2 separate regions of the Homo sapiens genome follow, and region 2 is linked to region 1. Evidence: promoter capture Hi-C in 16 types of primary human blood cells and fetal thymus (Javierre and others, 2016). All regions are on one chromosome and are shown on one strand. The core of a region is centred on a gene start or on the middle of the fragment in contact, and the rest is flanking DNA. Distances in the headings are between cores, read along the strand shown.

The links. Contacts are between HindIII fragments. The CHiCAGO score rates a contact against its expected background, and 5 or more counts as called.
Region 2: a contact is called between a fragment that was not itself captured here and the fragment with the promoter of GYS1 in region 1, in 1 of 17 cell types (endothelial precursors). The highest score is 5.1, in endothelial precursors.

The regions. Positions count from the first base shown.
Region 1 is chr19:48,991,643-48,995,161 of GRCh38, forward strand. It overlaps GYS1 (glycogen synthase 1), which reads right to left and starts at 1,667. Exons shown (of 16, transcript NM_002103.5): 1 at 1,353-1,667. The coding sequence starts at 1,470. It overlaps RUVBL2 (RuvB like AAA ATPase 2), which reads left to right and starts at 2,245. Exons shown (of 15, transcript NM_006666.3): 1 at 2,245-2,281. The coding sequence starts at 2,270. RefSeq lists enhancers at 1,224-1,363, 2,054-2,143 and a silencer at 1,574-1,933. The HindIII fragment of the contact is 2,230 bases long and covers 1,579-3,519 here.
Region 2 is chr19:49,315,616-49,319,134 of GRCh38, forward strand. All of the region lies in intron 1 of SLC6A16 (solute carrier family 6 member 16), which reads right to left. Among named protein-coding and RNA genes, the nearest start is that of SLC6A16, 7.8 kb to the right of the region's middle. The HindIII fragment of the contact is 3,441 bases long and covers 256-3,519 here.

The DNA.
Region 1 (3,519 bases), core at 417-2,916:
GCTTGGATGAGGGGAACACGAGGGCTGGAGGGCAGTCCTCCTGGGTCTAAGGGAGAAGGGGGCTGGGGTCAGGACCCTGAAGGAGGAGGGGGCTCAGGCTAGACTTCTGGGTCTGAGAGAGAAGGGGCTGGGTGCCGGGACCCCTTGGTCTGAAGGAATTAGGCACTGGGGCTCTAAGGATGGCAGAGCTGAGGACTGACTACCCGGACTCAGGTTCCCGAGTTCCCAGCTCACAGGAGCTGGGTTTAAATCGCAGCCAGGCTCCAAAACCCAGTGAGGGAGACCCCCTCATGGCCAATCCAGCTTCTCACCATTGCCCAAGAGAAGCCTGCATGGTCATTCCCTGCCCCCAGGGACCTTGCTGACCTGCCTCCCAATTTCCTCTCCCTGACTAGGGACACCAGCATGCAGGGCTCTGCCTCTCCCATGACCCTATCCCAGACCCAGGAGCCCCAGCCCCCAGCCTCCTCCCATCCTGGAGCCCAGGCCCTGGCGATACCCGGCTGGGTGTTCACGGGCCCCCTCTCCTCCTGGGAGACACAGTCCCTTTCTCCTCCAAGACCCAGCAAAGCAACCCCCCAGACCCTGCTCTTTGAGGTGTGAGATTGGCTTGTTCCTGGGGATTTCAGCCCCAGCCTTCTCCAAGGCCAGAACCTCAGCTTTCTGAAGCCCAAGACACAGAAATGCAGGCTCCTAGCCCCTCCCATCCTAGGGCCCAGCCTCTGACTAACTTAGGACTTCCCAGCCTTCCCCTATTCCAGTACGCATGTGTCCCAGGCCATGGGCTCCTCTACTCCTAGGAACTAATAGCTCAGGCCCTCAGCTCCTTCAAAGCCCAGGCATTCATTACAGTCTCCAGCCCGTCCCATCTTTATTCTTAAGCAGCCAGATCCTCAGGTCCTCCCACCGCCGCTCAGGCCTCCTATCTCCCAGTCAGCTCTCTCTCAAATCTGGAGTTTTATCCCCTAGACCATGCTGTTAGGGTCATAGGTCTGAAACCCCGGCAGCTTCCCAGGTTTGCACGCAGAAATCCCATCCCCCCATCCCCTTCCCTGTTCAGGACCCAGGTATCTAGTCTCTCGGAAGCCTGCCTCCAGGACCTAGGAGTCTCATTTTAGCGCCCTCTTCCCTAGGACCCAGAACCCGGGCTTCCAGCCTCCTTTCATCTTAAGTCAAACGAACCATCCCTCTCCCACCCACCTCCGGCTTCCCAGCCCCTCCTCAAGGACACAGCCTCCTTGCCCAGGTCACAAGGGTTCCCCTAGTAGCCCCGTCCTCCTACAACTCAGAGTTCCGGGCCCCCATCCACTACTGTCCTTCTCGTCAAGGGCCCCGACGCCTGGCGTGCTCACCCTTGTTAGCCACCTCCCAGGCCACTTCGAAGAGCACTGCGTTCTCCAGGTCGAATTCATCCTCCCAGTCCTCCAGTCCTGGCAGTGAGGACATGGACAAAGTGCGGTTTAAAGGCATGGCTGGCGCAGGAAGGGGGGCTCCGGGGATCTCCAGGTAGGGACCCCGGAGGTGTCTAGGGAATGCACCAGGTAGGGTGCGGGGCCGAGTAGCTGGTGCCCGACGGGAAGCTTGCAAGACGCTCGGCTTCCTATTGCAAGACCGCACCCCTGCCCCGAAGCGTTGGGACCTAGGCAGAAGGAGGCCGCAGCGTCACTGAGCCCACTGGCGCCCCTGCAGTGAAACCTCGCAGCCGCCAGGAGGCGGTGGCCGCCCCCCCCAGCCAGCGCCATTGGCCCACGCCCGGGGGCGGGGATTTCCGCGTGTCCTCATTGGTGGAACGGGTTGGAGTCGCTGTGTCCCGGCCCCGCCTCGGCCGTGAGACCTCCAGGGGGCGGAGCTTGCCGCTGCGCTTTACGGAAACGAGTGGCCTTCAGCTCTGTCAATCTGGAGCTGGAGGCCTCAAAGTGGGGAGGAGGAGGAGGGTGGGATAAAGAGGAAAGGAGCGTGGAGGACGTGTGGTTACTCAAAGAACAGCTAAGAATTTTGCAATCGGCCTGAGCGGGGCGGTGGTGGGGCTGAGCAAAAGGAGGAGGAGCCAGGAGACATTGGGAATGGACCCAGGAGTTCCGGACGCCCGTCTTCCAGCGCAGCCTCGGTGGGAGGGCGGGGCATAAAGTCCCGCCACGCCCCCACAATATTTACATATTTATGAGGAACCATCGAGATCTTTGAAGAACCAGCTAGCCTAGAGGAGCCAGAACATCTCGCTCCTCGCGCGTTTCCGTTTCCGCTAGGACTCTGGCAGTTGGTGAGCATCATGGCAACCGTTGTAAGTGTGGGTGCATGGAGGGTGAGGAGCGAGCTAGCAGTCTCGAGTTTGAGAGAGGAGGATGCTGGAGGCCCTGACTCCTGGGTCTGAGGGAGGGGGGATCTGGGGGTTCAGACTCCTGGGTCTGAAAGAGGAGGAAGCTCGGCCACCCAGATCTGGGGGAGAAGGGGACATGGGGGCTGGACTTCTGGATCTGAGGCGGGGAGGGGGCTGGGATCCCAGAATCTCGGGTCTGGCCCCATCATGCTATAGGAACTCCAACTTTCAAAATCATCTTGGCGCAACGGCCGGTTCCGCAGTCCTTGGCGCCAGTGTGTGATGAGGAGGGTTGTAGGACCTTGCGCTTCGAGCCATTTGGGAGCCTTGGATTGTTAGTGGTGCCAATGGCACTTGAGTTCCAAGCTGGAAGCACAGGCAGGTACCTGTTCAGTGTGTCTGAGAGCGCGAGGGCGCCTAGTGAGCCTTTAGTGGGAAGAAATTGTCGAGGAACAAGAGAGTCTTAGTGGAGAGGACTGAAGGATTAGGGACCCAGAAATCGGGATCTTGTCATGCTACCGTTTTGGCCATTTTCATATTTCCAGTATTTCACACGGGCTACGTCTCAGTGTAAATGCTCAATAAATTATCACTTGAATATTTGAATGAATGAATACATGTGAATGAAGGAGAGGCCAGGAAACTTGGCCTGGCACCTGCTCAATTACCTGAATAAAGAAGCGATTTTGGCCTGGCGTGGTGGCTCATGCCTGTAATCCCAGCACTTTGGGAGGCCGAGGCGGGCGGATCACTTCAGGTCAGGAGTTCGTGGCCAACATTGCGAAACCCCGTCTCTATTAAAAATACAAAAATTAGCCAGGTGTGGTGGTGCAGGCCTGTAATCCCAGCTACTCAGAAGGCTGAGGCAGGAGAATCGCTTGAACCTGGGAGGCAGAAGTTGCAGTGAGCCAAGATCGCGCCACTGCATTCCAGCCTGGGCGACAAAGCGAGACTCTGTCTCCAAAAAAAAAAAGGTAATGTGACCTGAACTTAGGGACTGGGCTGGGCTTACAGGTGCCTCAATTTCCATGATGAGCCCAGTCAAGATGGAGGAAGGGAGGGGGAGAAAGTTGTTGGTAGCTGGGGATGAGATTTGAGTCTGTTGCTGTCACCAGGGCAAGGAGGAGGAGGAGGTGGATAGGGAAGTAGAAGAGGAAGGCTATGACCAGAACTACCGTGGAGAAAGTATTGGAAGTATGAGG
Region 2 (3,519 bases), core at 726-3,225, 320 kb after region 1:
GAGATGATTCAAAGCATACCACTAGAGAAAATCAATATAATTAGTCACATTGATATAATAAAGAAGAAAAATATTATCATCTCAAGAGATATAGGAAAAACATACAATACAATGATGATTTACGGAGAAAAACTTTTAGCAAACCAGGAATAATTTCCCTAACCTGATAAATGGTGTCTCTCAAAAAAAAAAGATTATACTTAATAGTGAACATATGCTTAAACATAGGCACATATTTAATAATGAAGTGAAGAAAGCTTGCCTTTTGAAATCAAGAACAATCAATGAAACCAGCTATCAGCACTTCCTTCCCATTGCATTAAATATTTTAGACAACACAGGAAAGCAAGGGGAATAAAAGACAAAGATTAAACAAAACTCACTATTCACAGATGATATATCTATGTGGAAGATCCAGAATACTACAGATAAATTATTTAAATTAATAAGATAATTTAGCAAGATTGTTGGATGCAAACAGCAATAAATGAAAATTATTTATATGTCTATGCTTGCAATACATAATTAGAAAATAAAATTTTAAAATAATAATGCCACTTATAAAATAATTTTTTAAATATAGAGTAAAATCCTGGGAAGGTAATGGCAATAACAGCAACATTGTTTTAAAATCTTCCCAAATACTCACATGAAAACAAGTAGTTCTACTAGATTGCAAGCCCAAAATCCATGGATAATATTTACAATATCAAGATAAACCCCAAAAGACAAGTCTATGAGAACAAACCACAAGAGCCACAGACCTGTATAGAATCAGCATCTGTGTGGGAGGAAACAAAGGAAGCAAGAGAGCATCTGACAGACCTGGGGATGGGGGACAGGGAAACCAGTCTCTCAAAATAATCAACAGGTACTCACCAGAAATCATGGGAAGGCTATTAGAGAACAGCAGCTAAAACTAGAAGATGTCTTGCCTAATCCAATAACAGTTGAGTGCATGGAGTCAACAATAGAAACTGAAGGGACCAGGGCAGACTAGATTCTATGAACTCTTAAAATTAACCAACCAGGGATCTTTTCCAACCCAGAGGCCACAATGAGGAGAAATTCCTGTGAGTAAAGCCAAATTGAGCAATACAAGAACAAGAATGATGAAGGATAGGCCAGACACAGTGGCTCATGCCTGTAATCCTAGTACTTTGGGAGGCCAAGGCAGGAGGATCACTTGAGGCCAGGAATTCAAGATAAGCCTTGACAATGCAGTGAAAACCCATCTCTACCAAAAAAAAAAAAAAAAAATTAAAATTAAAATTAGCCAGGCATAGTGGGACACGCCAGTGGTCCCAGCTATTTGGGAGGCTAAGTGGAGAGGATCGCTTGAGCCCAGGAGTTCAAGGTTGCAGTGGGCTATGATCACACCACTGAACTCCAGCCTGAGCAACAGAGTGGGACCTCATTCTCTAAAAAAATAAAATAAAATAGGCCAGGTGCAGTGGTTCATGCCCGTAATCCCAGCACTTTGAGAAGCCAAGGCAGGAGGATCACTTGAAGTCAGGAGTTTAAGACAAGCCTGGCCAATATGGTGAAACCCCATCTCTACCAAAAAATACAAAAATTAGCCAGGCATGGTGGGACACACCTGTAGCCCCAGCTACTCGGAAGGCTGAGGTGAGATAATTACTTGAATCCAGGAGGGGGAGGTTGCAGTGAGCCAAGATTGCACCACTGCACTCCAGCTTGGGCAACAGAGTAAGACCCTATCTCAAAAATAATAACAATAATAATAAAATAAAATTAATTAATTAAAAGATAATTTTAAGAAAACATAGAAATGAAGGATATACAGGATCCAGATAAAAATGGGGAGAAGAAATTTCCACTTTTGACCATGAAAGCAAAACAGTGTCTGGAGTTACCTCCACAAAAACACTACAAAACTGTACAAATAGGCCAGGCGCCGTGGCTCACGCCTGTAATCCTAGCACTTTAGGAGGCCGAGGCGGGCGGACCACGAGGTCAGGAGATCAAGACCATCCTGGCTAACATGGTGAAACCCCATCTCTACTAAAAATACAAAAAATTAGCCGGGCATGGTGGCGGGCGCCTGTAGTCCCAGCTACTCGGGAGGCTGTGGCAGGAGAATGGCGTGAACCCAGGAGGTGGGGCTTGCAGTGAGCAGAGATCGCACCACTGCACTCCAGCCAGGGCAACACAGCGAGACTCCGTCTCAAAAAAAAAAAACTGTACAAATAATTAAAACAACTATTTTCACATATTAAACAAAGGCAGTACAGCATTGCAATCTCTAAAAAAAGGCCAGAAAACAAGGTAACTAATTGCACGATTGCCCCATTTTTCTGCTAATTTCCAAACTTTGGCACAGGAGGAAGAATACAAACAGAGCCTGGCAGTCTCAGCACTTGAGGAGGCAAAAGTCAGTTCAGGAAGGCTTAGGTGACTAGAATTAGCTGGGCTAAGTACTCAACAGAAGGGAGCCACAGAGAAAGAGCTCTAGGAATCTGGATAAAGTACCTTCGAGCCATTAGCTAAATATCAACCTGCACATGTATAGTATGAAACCTCATAAGAACAGGCAAAGAATAAATTCCAAGGAAAGAAAAGTACTGGGGAACTACAGGTAAAACAATTCCTAGAACTTGGAGAAGAACAAGAATTACTCAAGTTTCCATCAGCCAGTGTGGAGAGACTTTACTGAATACTTGGAACATTTAAAGTGGCATAAACTAGCTCTAGTTCTAGTAGTAGGACTACTTTAGACCTGAAAAAAAAAAATTCTTAAAAGCAACCCTTAAACAGCCAAAACTGATCTTCAAGTAACTTAACTGCCTGTCACAACAAAGGCCAACATTCCTTAAGATAATACAGACAAACCTAGCACTGAACAACAAAAAATTCATAATGTCAACCATCTAGTCAAAAATTACTAGACATGCAAAAAAGCAGGAAAAGTGACCCATAATCAGACAACAAAAACAGAAATGATAGACTAATGGAATTAACACACCATAACACTAAAATAGCTGTTACAAATATGCTTAATATGGTCAAGGACTTAAAAGGAAAACATGAACAGAATGAGGAATATAAGATAGCTAGATAGCTAGCTAGCTAGACAGACAGATAGATATTTTCTCTTTTGAGACAGAGTCTCACTCTGTTGCCCACACTGATCTCAGCTCACTGCAGCCTCTGCCTCCAAGTTTCAAGCAATTCTCCTTCCTCAGCCTCCCAAGTAGCTGGAATTACAGGTGTGCACCACCACAACTGGCTATTTTTTTTTTTTTTTTTTTTTTTTAGTAGAGACAGGGTTTTGCCATGTTGGCCAGGCTGGTCTCGAACTCCTGATCTCATGTGATCCAGCTACCATGGCCTCCCAAAGTGCTGGGATTACAGGCATGAGCCTCCATGCCTAGCCATGATATATTTTAAACATCAAATAGAACTTCTAGAGATGATACAACACCTGAAATGAAAATTTCACTGAAGATTACTGGCAGATTTTAATAAATCAGTGAACTTAAAGATATAGCAATAGAA